2 separate regions of the Homo sapiens genome follow, and region 1 is linked to region 2. Evidence: promoter capture Hi-C in 16 types of primary human blood cells and fetal thymus (Javierre and others, 2016). All regions are on one chromosome and are shown on one strand. The core of a region is centred on a gene start or on the middle of the fragment in contact, and the rest is flanking DNA. Distances in the headings are between cores, read along the strand shown. Region 1 holds the start of ZNF155 (zinc finger protein 155). Region 2 holds the start of ZNF180 (zinc finger protein 180).

Region 1 (5,887 bases), core at 2,567-5,066, 520 kb before region 2:
GGGAGGTCAGTTCTGTATTAGGATGGACGCTGGTACGTTGCAGAGTGCTTCACAAGGCCCTACAGCCATTAACCCGTGTGACTATGTACTCAAAAGGAGAAATATTCAAACATCTTGGCAACGACTAACTCCTATTATCAAATGGCACGTTTATATTTTGATGATTGGGCCTGGTGAGAAGGAAGCAGGAAGGAATCTAGGCATATTTGTAAGATACATACATACCAGAGGGAAGAAATAAATCTTATAATAATTCATGGGCCTTTCACCTTGGTGAAATTTCCACAAGTTCACTGATGTAGGCCTATTGAGCTATCCCTTCTGGGTGTAGGGCAAGTAGAATATAGCCCTTCCTACGATCAAAAAATAGCGTCACAACGCCTAGTGGACCACTGGGGCTATTGTATGCTACTTATTCCTCATTGAGGCGTGCTACTTTGCCTATTTTGTGTGACCTGAAAACATTTTGACTCATCCAAGATAAGTCTGTGCAATGTGTCCCAGCTGCTATGTAAGTTTCTCTGCCATCAGGACCCTATGACCCAGAAAAGCCAAAAGTGATTAAAATGTTAATGAAAGATAGTGATGGTTGAGCCTTTGGCTGGCCCTAGTTAGTAAATCAGCACTTTACAAGGCTGAGGTGGGAGAATCGCTTGAGCCCAGGACTTCAAGACAAGCCTTGGCAACATAGCAAGACCTTGTTCTAAAAAAAAAAATTGAGGCGAACAGACCAAAAACTCAACATAAAAATGGGTAATAGATTTGAACAATTTACAAAAAGAAAAATAATATTGACACAGGAAATATGCAAAAATGTTCTATGTTATTTAAAAAACAAGAAATATAAATTAAAACTAAATTTAAATACACTTCTTACCATTTGATTGGCAAAACTTTAAAAATGTTGTAATAACACATTTTGTTAGCTAGTTTCAAGGCAAGAGTATATTTATACATTACTTCTGCAAATGGAAATGGTACCAAAAAATTAAGGCAACTTGACAATATGCAACAAAATTTCTATTAATATCTTCACTTTTCAATCCTGCTTTCTGGGATGTACTCTTCTGATGTATCTTCAACAGGGATAATATACAAATGTACAAGTGTATTTATAACAGCATCATTTGTAATAATAAAATATTGGAAGTCACTGAAATGTCCATAAATTGCAGCACTGTTATATAAACCACTCAATGGAATTTATGCAGTTTTAAAAATAAATTACTCCATATGACATGATTTCCAAGATGTTATTATGTGAATATAGAAGAATTAGAAGTGTACTATCCTAACATTTAAGTAAAAAGGAAAAATAAGAAACACATCTATTCTGTTAAAAAAAAGTGGTAATGAAAATAATAAAATTAGTTACATAAAGGTGTTAGGTGGCAACACTGTGGAATTGGTTTAGGGGTAGGAAGGAGGGGAGTGGCACTTCTCTGAGAATAATATGTGGTAGAGCATTGACTCATGGGAACATGTTGATGACTGACATACCCAATAATATAAAATCAAGAATGAGATTTCTTTGTAGATAAACTAGGAAAGTGAAAATCATAGAATAACAAATTAACCTAAATGTATTTCAAATCAATAACATAAACAGTCTAAAGGTGACAGCAAGAAGTAATTTAAGCAACTTATTAAACAGTACAGTGTTTGACTATATATCCTCAGTCTAAAGACAAAAAGAACTATAAAAAATGTTGAACTCTACTTTTGCATTGTTTTTTACAATGATATGAATTAGTAACTCTGACACTGCATGATGCGTATGCAATGGTCTTAATGTTTGTGGCCCACCAAAATCCATATATTGTAATTTTTACCCTCAATGTGATGGTAATAGGAGGTGGGGCCTTTGGAGGGTGATTAGGTCACGGGATGAATACCCTTATAAAAAATGCCAGAAGGAGCTTGTTTGTCACTTCAACCAAATGAAGACACAGCAATATGGTGCTAACTATGAACAAGAAAGTGGCCAACTACCTGACACAAAATCTGCCAGTGCTTTGATCTTGGATCCCAGTTTCCAGATCTGTGAAGAATAGATTTCTGTTGCTTAAAAGCCGGCCGGGCGTGGTCGCTCACGCCTGTAATCCCAGCACTTTGGGAGGCCGAGGTGGGCGGATCACAAGGTCAGATCGAGACCATCCTGGCTAACACGGTGAAACCTCTTCTCTACCAAAAATACAAAAAAATTAGCCGGGCATGGTGGCGAGCACCTGTAGTCCCAGCTACTCGGGAGGCTGAGACAGAAGAATGGCATGAACCTGGGAGGCAGAGCTTGCAGTGAGCCGAGATCGCGCCACTGCACTCTAGCCTGGGCGACAGAGCAAGACTCCGTCTCAAAAATAAAATAAAATAAAATAAAATAAAATAAAATAAAATAAAATAAAATAAAATAAAAGCCAGGCAGGCTATGATATTTTGTGACTAAAAAATATTGGTACTGAGAGGTGGGCTTGCTGCTGCAACAAATACCTAAAAATGTAGCAGTCTTTGGAACTATGTAATGGATAGAGTCTAGAAGAGTTTTTACATGTATGCTAGGAAAAGCCTACATTGCCATGAATGGACTGATAAGGACAATTCTGGTTAGCGCTCAGAAATAGAGAATAAGAACTGTAGAGAAAACATCAATCTTGTTAGAGCATACCTAGGTAGTCATGATCAGAATGTTGGTAGAAATATGGACAGTAAAGGCCATTCTGAAGACCTCAGTCAGAAATGTTGAACATGTTATTGGAAGAGAAGAGAGCTTCTTGTTATAAAGGGACAAAGAATTTGGCTGAATTATATTCAGGTGCTAGTGTTTTATGGAAGGTAGAATTTGTGAATGATATAATTGTTTATCTGAATTAATTTCTAATCAAAGTGTTGAAGTTGCTTGAATCATCTTGACTACCCGTAGTGAAAGGCACGAAGTGAGGAATGACTGAAATAATTATTAATTAAAAGGGAAACAGAACTAAAATTTTTAAAAGTTTACAGCCTATCTACTTTGGAAAAAAAAAAAAACAGGAAACCTGAAGAATACAAGGGTATGGTTAAGCAACTAACTAATTCATGAATTTAGTATGGATTGGCCATGTCAACTGAAGCCAGGACCTATTGTCCAAGACAATGGAAGAATGACCCCAAAGGCATTTCACAGATTATGGCAGCTTCTCCTCCCATCACAGGCCCAGAGTGCAAGGACCTGGGGGACAGAAAGGGCCTTTGATGCCAGATATACCCTAATATATTAGGCACAGTTTCCTGCCTACTACGATTGAGCGTGTCAATAAATTTTTATCTCTTGGGAGGGCAGAACAGAGCAAGGATACAGCTGTAACTGGTTTAGAAATAGCAGTCACTCAATTTTCAGAGAAGTGTTCCTCATACTGTGGTTGGCACAGTCACTTTATCTAAAGAAAACCATGAAAAGTATTCTTTTTTAGTTTAGAAAAATTGATATAGAACATGAGACTCCATTTTTTTAAAATAAAAATATAGGTTGATAGGCCAGAATTCACAGGTCCACCTGCCTGAGCCAAAATTCTCACGCCTCCACAGAGCAAATGGACTCCATTTCCCAAGATACCAGCGAAACGCCTGCGGGAGTCTAATTGCCCGGTCGATGCGCAGGAAATTTGGCTCCCGCAGGCGTTTCGCGAGTAGCTTGGGAGGCGTGGGAATTTTGGCCCAGGCAGGAGGACCTGTGAATTCTGGGAAGTGGAGTCCATTTGCTCTGTGGAGTCGTGGGAACTTTGGCTCAGGCAGGCGGATTCGGGGGATTCTGGGAAGTGTAGTCCAGACGCCTGTGGCATCATCGACACTTCCGGTCTCCGAGCAGGACACTGCTACTTAACAAGGTGGTTTGAGCCAAGTATGTGTCTTGCGGGTCTTTGCGAAAGTGAACCAGTTATTAGGGGCGCCTAACGACCTGGGGGGTCAACTAAGGGGGTAAGAAGCCCTGGAGAAGACCTGAGGTTTGGAGATGCGAGGGGTGGGAGGGAAGTTTCGTTGCCGTCGATGGAGCCTTCTGGCGTTGGGGGCTGTACTCAGGTCCACCGGAGGAGTCGTCGGGGGTTCGGGGGGGGCGGGGAAGAACTCTGTCTAGTCTTGTGTGCCTGTTTAGAGGGTTTTCCAGGTGTTTGACCTCGTTCAGTCCGCCTCCCTCCACTCTTAAGTGTGCGACCTCTTTCTCGCGATATAACGTGGGGTGTTACTTAATCTCCCTGTACCTCCCATTGCCGTTTTTTAAATGAGGATTTCAGGACCATCCTGATAGAATTGTTTTAGGAGTTGAAAGTTGTGGTATAAAACAAAGACTTAACAGCTCCTGTCACTTGGTGTCCTGTTAATTTCCCGCGAAGTGGTCAGGTGCCCGGGTGGGGTCAGAGCTCCAGCTGCTCCGGCCCTTCTCTTGGAGCCCGGCAGGGCTCTGGATGATCCCGGACGCCTCTGACCTCTTTTTAGGAAGGCGTGGGTTGCATCCACGTTTCACGAAGGGAGAGGAGCATTTAACTTGTATCCGGGACGGCGACGCAGAGTGTTTGACAGCTTTCTCCTTCCCCAGCCTGACTTTTCTAAAAGAGCTGCAGGGAGGGACTTGGCTACTGAGGACAAAGCTGTCTACACGAGTGGTCTTTGGCTTTTCTCTTTTTAAAAAAAAGTTATTTATTTTGTTAGTCTGTTTTTATTATTGTTATTATTTGAGAATGAGGTTTGCTCTGTCTCCCAGGCTGGAGTGCAGCAGTGGCGCGATCTTGGCTCACTGCAACCTCCGCCTCCTGGGTTCAAGCGATTCTCTGTCCTCAGCTCCGGAGTAGCTGGGATTACAGGCATGCGTCACCATGCCCGGCTAATTTTTGTATTTTTAGTAGAGACGGGGTTTCACCATGTTGGCCAGGCTGGTCTCGAACCTGTGGTCCTAAGTGATCCGCCTGCCTCGGCCTCCCAAAGTGCTGGAATTACAGGTGTGAGCCACCGCGCCGGGCCGGTTTTTTCTTTTACAGAGATGTTCACCTCAACCAAGAGTGTATAGGATGTGTCCTTGGGCATGGGTGTTGATAATAATTAAACCTTAATTGGTAACTTAATTCTAAGGGCTTTATGGAAATAAATACATTTACGCCACACCATGGCTCTGTGGAAAGGTATTGCTCTTTTTCTTTTTTTTTTTTTTTTTTTTTTCCTGAGACGGAGTCTCGCTCTGTCGCCCAGGCTAGAGTGCAGTGGCGCGATCTGGGCTCAGTGCAATAGGCCGCCTCCCAGGTTCAGGCGATTCTCCTGCTTCAGCCTCCTAAGTAGCTGGGATTACAGGTGCGCACCACCACGCCCAGCTAATTTTTGTATTTTTAGTAAAGATGGGGTTTCACCGTTTTGGTCAGGCTGGTCTGAAACTCCTGACCTCGTGATCCGACCGCCTTGGCCTCCGAAAATGCTGGGATTACAGGCGTGAGCCACCGCGCCCGGTCGCTCTTTTCCATTTTAAATATGGGAGTGAGACACCTGGTGCTTAGTTCCCAGTAGAATGAGGTACAGCTGGAGCTGGAACCTAGGCAGTTTGGGTCAGAGCCTGAGTTGATCATCCCTTGGATACATTTTCATTGAGGTAGAGGAACTAGCTGGAATCAGGTGGGGAAAGAGAGTTAGGACTTGATTGAAGGGACCTTGAGAGCAAGGCTCATAGACTTGGACTTCTGTAGGAGTCTTTTAAAAATTTGTCAACATCCTGTTTCACTTTTTATAAGGATTTTGTATTGTGGAACCATATCATTGTGGAGCATTTTAAAATTAGATTAATAGGAGGAGAAAACATGTTTTAAATTACCCATGAATCCAAGATGTGAAGGTGCTAACTGTCTGATACAAGAGATGGAACTTCCAGTTCTCC
Region 2 (5,742 bases), core at 1,570-4,069:
TCACTGGGCCCTGGGATCCCCACAAATATCAGGCATATTGAGGACCCCCTGGTGTTCACCCCATCCTACCCCTACCAACCTCAATCTACAGCCCCAAACCAGCACTTCTTCCTAGGGCCAGAATCACACTCACTGCCTAACTGCATGAAGCTGGTGACACAGCTCCACTGCTCCCAGGAACTGATTCAACAACTAAGACTGATCCTACCGTTCCATCAGCCAGACCTGTCCCTCCAGCAACTCAGCACAGAGGGCCACCCACATCCTGCTCAAATAGCCAAGCATTTATGCACAGAGCTCAGCTATACCCACATCCTGTTCCCTCCACACTTCTGGGGTCCACTGGCTCCTACTCGAACAGCACCAGCCAGATTCCCACCCTAACACCCTCCCAGGCCCTGAATTTGTAGCTCTAAACCAGTCCCTCCACCAACTTGGGTATACTCAGGCCTGAAACTACAACAAGGCCTGCATAGGGCTGGGGGCCTCCAACAGACACCAGCACAAGCCAGACAAAAGCAGCCCTACCCAGGCTCTAAATACATGTCTCAGAAGCTCAGGTGCCTCTGTACCAACTAGGTGTTTTGGGATCCAAGACTAGAGGGCAAATCCTACCCTAGGCACCCCACCCTCTGCACTCCATCTCTCCCACTTACTCTCTCCCCTGCTCCCACCATATTCTCACGCAGCATAGCGTAGGTTCACAATGCAGCTGTTTCCTGAAATTGCACCCAAACTGTTTCCTCCACCTTACTCCACAGCCCCCTGCTTGAGCCACACCTGCCCAGATTCTGACCAAACATCTTTCGGGGGCACCTGTGGCTCAGGAAGATCCTGTCTTTCCACCAAACTGGGCACCATCAGGCTGTGATCAGGGTTCCAATCACACAAAGACCCCAGCACCCTCTGTCTAAAACTCATCTCCGGCCTCCTGTTTCCCAACCAAACACCGGTGTGTGTGCACAAGGGGTGCCTGACACAGTCCCGCCCCTCTGCAGCTGCTCCCCCCCACACACCTGGGCATCCTCAGGCAGAATCAGGGTCCTAGGACTGCCCATGCCTCCCCAATCTGCCCAAATGCCAGCACACGTGCAGAGTGTTGCTGGAGCAGCCCCGTGCCTCCTAAGACCAGATCCAAACTGGAGCCCCCAGGCCTCTATTCCACAGCCACTGCACACGGGCCACCCACCTAGACTCCCTCCTACTGATACAGCCACAGAGCAGGTTCGTGCTCACAATCTGCATCCAGGACCTGGCTCCTCTGCCCGTCTGGGGGCACACCATGCTCCTGAGTCAACAATCTACATCCCTCACCCTGTGTCTCAACCTGCCTGGGACATCTCAGGTACCCACAGCCTCTGTGTAGGTTCTGGGGTCAACTGCCCCACTATTTGCCCGCAGCCAGGACACTACAACAACTAAACAGTAGCTTGAGCATACAGCTCCATAATCAGCCCCAGGACTTGGGCACTCGCCAGCGTGGGGGTTCTCGAGCCTACGATACAGCAGCTCAATGGGAACTGGGCCCTTTGTCCTTCTCTTGCCCAATCATGACGGCCTGGGTGTTGTGCAGTCAGCTCTTCCCGGGACCAAATCTGCAGCACAGGCTCTGTCCCTCTACTAACCTGCACATTCTCACGCCTGCAAATAGCGTACCCAAGTAAAGGTCTCAGCAACACCTGCTTCATAACGATGCTGGCAACATACTGCTTCCTCCCCAGCTACCAATTTGATGGCAGCTGTTGCAGCTCTGTCCTTCCTGGACTTAAATTCTGTATCTCCAACCCGGAGTCTCTGCCCATCTTGAATGCTCTAGAGCTCTGCACTATCCTACATAGGTCCCTACTATCAGTTCAAGTTTCTGTTTTCCATTCAGACACCCCCAGGACGTGCAGGGGGCCCTCTGCCCAGAACCTGTTTCTAGGCCCTGATACCCTCCTTCAGCCTGGGAGTTTGCTGCCCATGGGTAATTCCCACCAAGGGTTCACTAGCAACACTGCCTCTTCTGGCACAAGAATCTGCAACTCCAATCTGGTCTCTCCACCAACCACAGCGCCCCCAGACCTTGGAGAAGCGCGTTGTCTGCTCTAGGGGCCCAGAGCCACCTGCTCGGAATCTTACCTACAACCTTTTGCTTCCTACCCAAATACCTGATCAAGAGTAAAGGGACAGTGGCACAGCCCCTCCTCTCCAGAAACCACAATCTGCAATGGAGCACTCCATCAACCCGGACATCCTCAGGCCTCCACTAAATAAGCCCGGCATTGGAGGAGGGGAGTTCTCAAGATGTCCCCTTACATCAATGCATGTGCCCTGTGTTCCAGCAACCTGGGCATCCTCAGGCCCCAGACAAGAGCACCACCTGACCAAGCACCCGCGCATGCACGCAGAGGACAGTCGCGGAATATACAGCTGTATCAGTAACTCCATCAACCCCGGTGACCCGAGGCTAAAGCGCCACCCGCACAGATACCAGGTCTCCCCGCTACACTCACCACCGCTTCCAGCTTCCCGCGTAGACCCTGCGCATGCGCGCATCGGACACCAAGCGCTGCCCCACGCCCCTACCAACCTGGGCGTCCGCTGGCCCGCAGCCCAGGCTGGGCCTGTCACCGCCTCAGTGCCTAGCACGGCTCTGCGGCAGGACGAACTCGGGTTAGGCAACCCCCTGCCCCGATTCTGCAACACGGCCGACTCGGGTTAAGCTAGTTCGGTCCCCTCTCCTAGTCAGCATCCGCAAGGCCGCTGGGGGTTAAGTCTGAAGGGCCGAGCTGCTCGGCGACAGCAAGCGTCCGCGCGCGGGACAATGGCTGCTCTTGTGGCCGAACCCGGAAGTGCACTTGGGCTCGGAGAGCCAGAACTACAATTCCCAGAAGCCTCCGCGGCGCGGACGGTCAGTAGGCGGGGTTCCGGCTTCTCCAAGGAAGTGGGGCGGGGGACCGGGCCAGAAGCTAAGAGGGCGTCCTCGTCCGGGGCCCGGGGGGGCGCCACACCTGTGCATGTGCAGGTCTAGGGGGAGCACTAAGACCAGCCGCGGCGCCGGGAGGCCGAGGCCAGTGCAGCGACGCATGGGGAGTCGCTCTGGCGTGACGTCAGAATCCAATAGAAATGGCGGGGACCCTTTCTGGGTGCCCCCTGCCTGTCAGACGCTGCGCGCGACCCCTTGTCTCCTCTAGTCCTAGGGGAAACCTGTGAGACAGTTGCGACATCCCCATTTTACAGTGGAGGGAGCGTCTACCGAACCCTTCAGGAATCTATGTTTTTACATTTAATAATACTAAAATATAATCATTTTATTTTTAAATTTTGAGTTCTTTCTCTGCCTATAAGGCCTGAAGGATCTGTTCCCCCCACCTCTCCCCTTTTCTCTGTTTTTGTTTTGTTTTGTTTTGTTGTTTTGAGACGGAATTTCGCTCTTGTCGCCCAGGCTGGAGGGCAATAGCGCGATCTCGGCTCACTGCAACCTCCACCTCCCGGATTCAAGCGATTCTCCTGCCTCAGCCTCCTGAATAGCTGGGATTACAGGCGCCAGCCACCACGCCCGGCTAATTTTTGTATTTTTAGTAGAGACGGGGTTTCACCACGTTGGCCAGGTTAGTCTCCAACTCCTGACCTCAGGTGATCCGCCCTCGGCCTCCCAAAGTGCTGGGATTACAGGCGTAGTCCCCTTTTCTCTTTGCCCTCATTTCTTGCCCATTTGCTTGGCACATTTTCCCCATTCTCCAACAGATCCAGCAGACTCCAGCCCCTGGTCGTTTGCAGGTGCTCTTTGCACTCCCTAGCAGCCTCTCCTGAGGGATTCATTTGGCTCTCACCGTCTGGTAATTAGGGGAATATCATCTTCTCATGAGGCATTGCCCCACCACCCGTTGTGAACTTGCAAGCAAACGCTTCCCTCCCCACATGCTCTGTGCCTCCCCCTTCATCTTTTATTTTTTTCTCTAAAGAACTTTTCACTATCTAGCACACTATATATTTTAATTATTTATTTGGTCTACTGTCCGACCTACCACTACGATGTCAATTCCATAAGGAAAAGCATTTTATCGATGTTGATCACTGCTGCATCCCCAACACCTAAAAAAAAAAAAAAGAGAGAGACCTGGCACATAATAGATGCTCAATAAATATTCGTTGGCTAAATAAAGGTTCCTGTCTCTGTATTAAACACTTTAATATTTCATTACCAAGCCCAATCAGCCTATGAGGTAGTTGTGTTAATTTTCATCCTACCAGGGAGGTAGCTGAAAATTGGAGCCCTGCTGTATGAAAATACATAATTTTTTAGTTTTTAAAATGCTTGTCAAAGCACTCCTGTAGTTTTCTTCACGTAAATTCTGACCTTTAAAAACAATGAATTATTACTATTTGAAATGTAATCTCTATCCCCAAAGCTTCTTATTATTGGTTATTGTGGTTGATCTTTTAAAAAATACTTATTTTGTATCTGGTTAACCTACTGCAATGTTATTAATTCTTACAATACTCCAGTTGACTCTCTTGGCTTTTCTATTGAGACAGTTATCTACAATTTCATCTTTTCCTTACCAGTATTTTAAATTAGACATTCTCTTTCATGTTGGATTATATTGGCTACCATTTCCAAAAAAGTATTACTAAAAGAGGCATTCTTGTTTGTGTTCTTTTAATGGACATATCTCTGAAGTTTGAGGGTTAAATGTGACATCGGTTTCTACATTGAAGTAAGTAGCTTATTTTTTTAACCTTTTATTTTGTAAATTTCAAAACAAAAGTAGGGACTCAATTAATGACTCCCCAAGACCTATGTCATCCAACTTAAATATTTTCACTCAGTCTTGTTTCATCTGTATTTCCACCTATGTTGTGCATTTGAGACCAAGATGTTGAACTCTAGAGTCCATGCTCTTAACTTTTACATTATGTTGCCGCTTGTCTACACATCAGTATCTTTCCTCTACGTGCAAGCAATACTAAGTTTGCAAACAAAACAGAAAAAGTTCGTATGTATTCACAAAAAAGCAAAAAAAAAAAGCCTTATAAGTAAATTTAGTAAGATAAATATGTCATCTGAAGAAACCCTCAAAACCTTACTGAGAGAGAAAAATGGACAAATAGAAATGCTGTGTTGCTAGCTGTGTGTTGTAAAGATGTAAAATCTTGCAGATTGATCTGCAAATACAAATATGACAAAATCAGAATGGGATGCTTTGAGTGTTAGGTCGTCTTCCTTTTTTCACTTCATTTATTTTTCTGCTAATTGTTTAAGATATTCAGAAAATAGGCCAGGCGCAGTGGCTCACACCTGTAATCCTAGTACTTTGGGAGGCTAAGGCAGGCCAATCATGAGGTCAAGAGTTCAAGACCAGTCTGGCCAACATGGCAAAACTCTGTGTCTACTTAAAAAATACAAAAATTAGACAGGCATGGTGATGCACGCCTGTAATCCCAGCTACTCAGGAGTCTGAGGCAGAAGAATCGCTTGAACCTGGGAGGCAGAGGCTGCAATGAGCCAAGATCACGTTGCTACACTCCATCCTGGGCAACAGAGCAAGACTCCATCTCAAAAAAAAAAAACAATTTTCAGAAAATAAAGCGTTAGTACTATGTAATGTAAAACTGACTTTGTTTATCTGTCTTTTGTTTAGTCTTTTTTATTTTCTTTCACAATGAACAAGGTGGTAATGTTTACTTCCAGGAACCTATAAATCCTGACTTAACCTGAATATTACAGGGACTTTAGAAGAGTTACCACTGCTGGGC

The links. The method cuts DNA at HindIII sites, captures the fragments that hold promoters and counts their contacts. A CHiCAGO score of 5 or more calls a contact.
Region 1: a contact is called between the fragment with the promoter of ZNF155 here and the fragment with the promoter of ZNF180 in region 2, in 13 of 17 cell types (total CD8 T cells, total B cells, neutrophils and 10 more). The highest score is 13.2, in total CD8 T cells.

Annotation. Positions count from the first base shown.
Region 1 is chr19:43,980,372-43,986,258 of GRCh38, forward strand. It overlaps ZNF155 (zinc finger protein 155), which reads left to right and starts at 3,817. Exons shown (of 5, transcript NM_198089.3): 1 at 3,817-3,874. It also overlaps a transcript of ZNF221 not described here. RefSeq lists a silencer at 3,514-3,713. The HindIII fragment of the contact is 8,717 bases long and covers 1-5,887 here.
Region 2 is chr19:44,497,703-44,503,444 of GRCh38, forward strand. ZNF180 (zinc finger protein 180) reads right to left here and starts at 2,820. Exons shown (of 5, transcript NM_001278509.3): 1 at 2,573-2,820. RefSeq lists enhancers at 2,090-2,588, 2,576-2,625, 2,589-3,089, 2,636-2,695, 2,706-2,915 and 2 more. The HindIII fragment of the contact is 10,008 bases long and covers 1-4,392 here.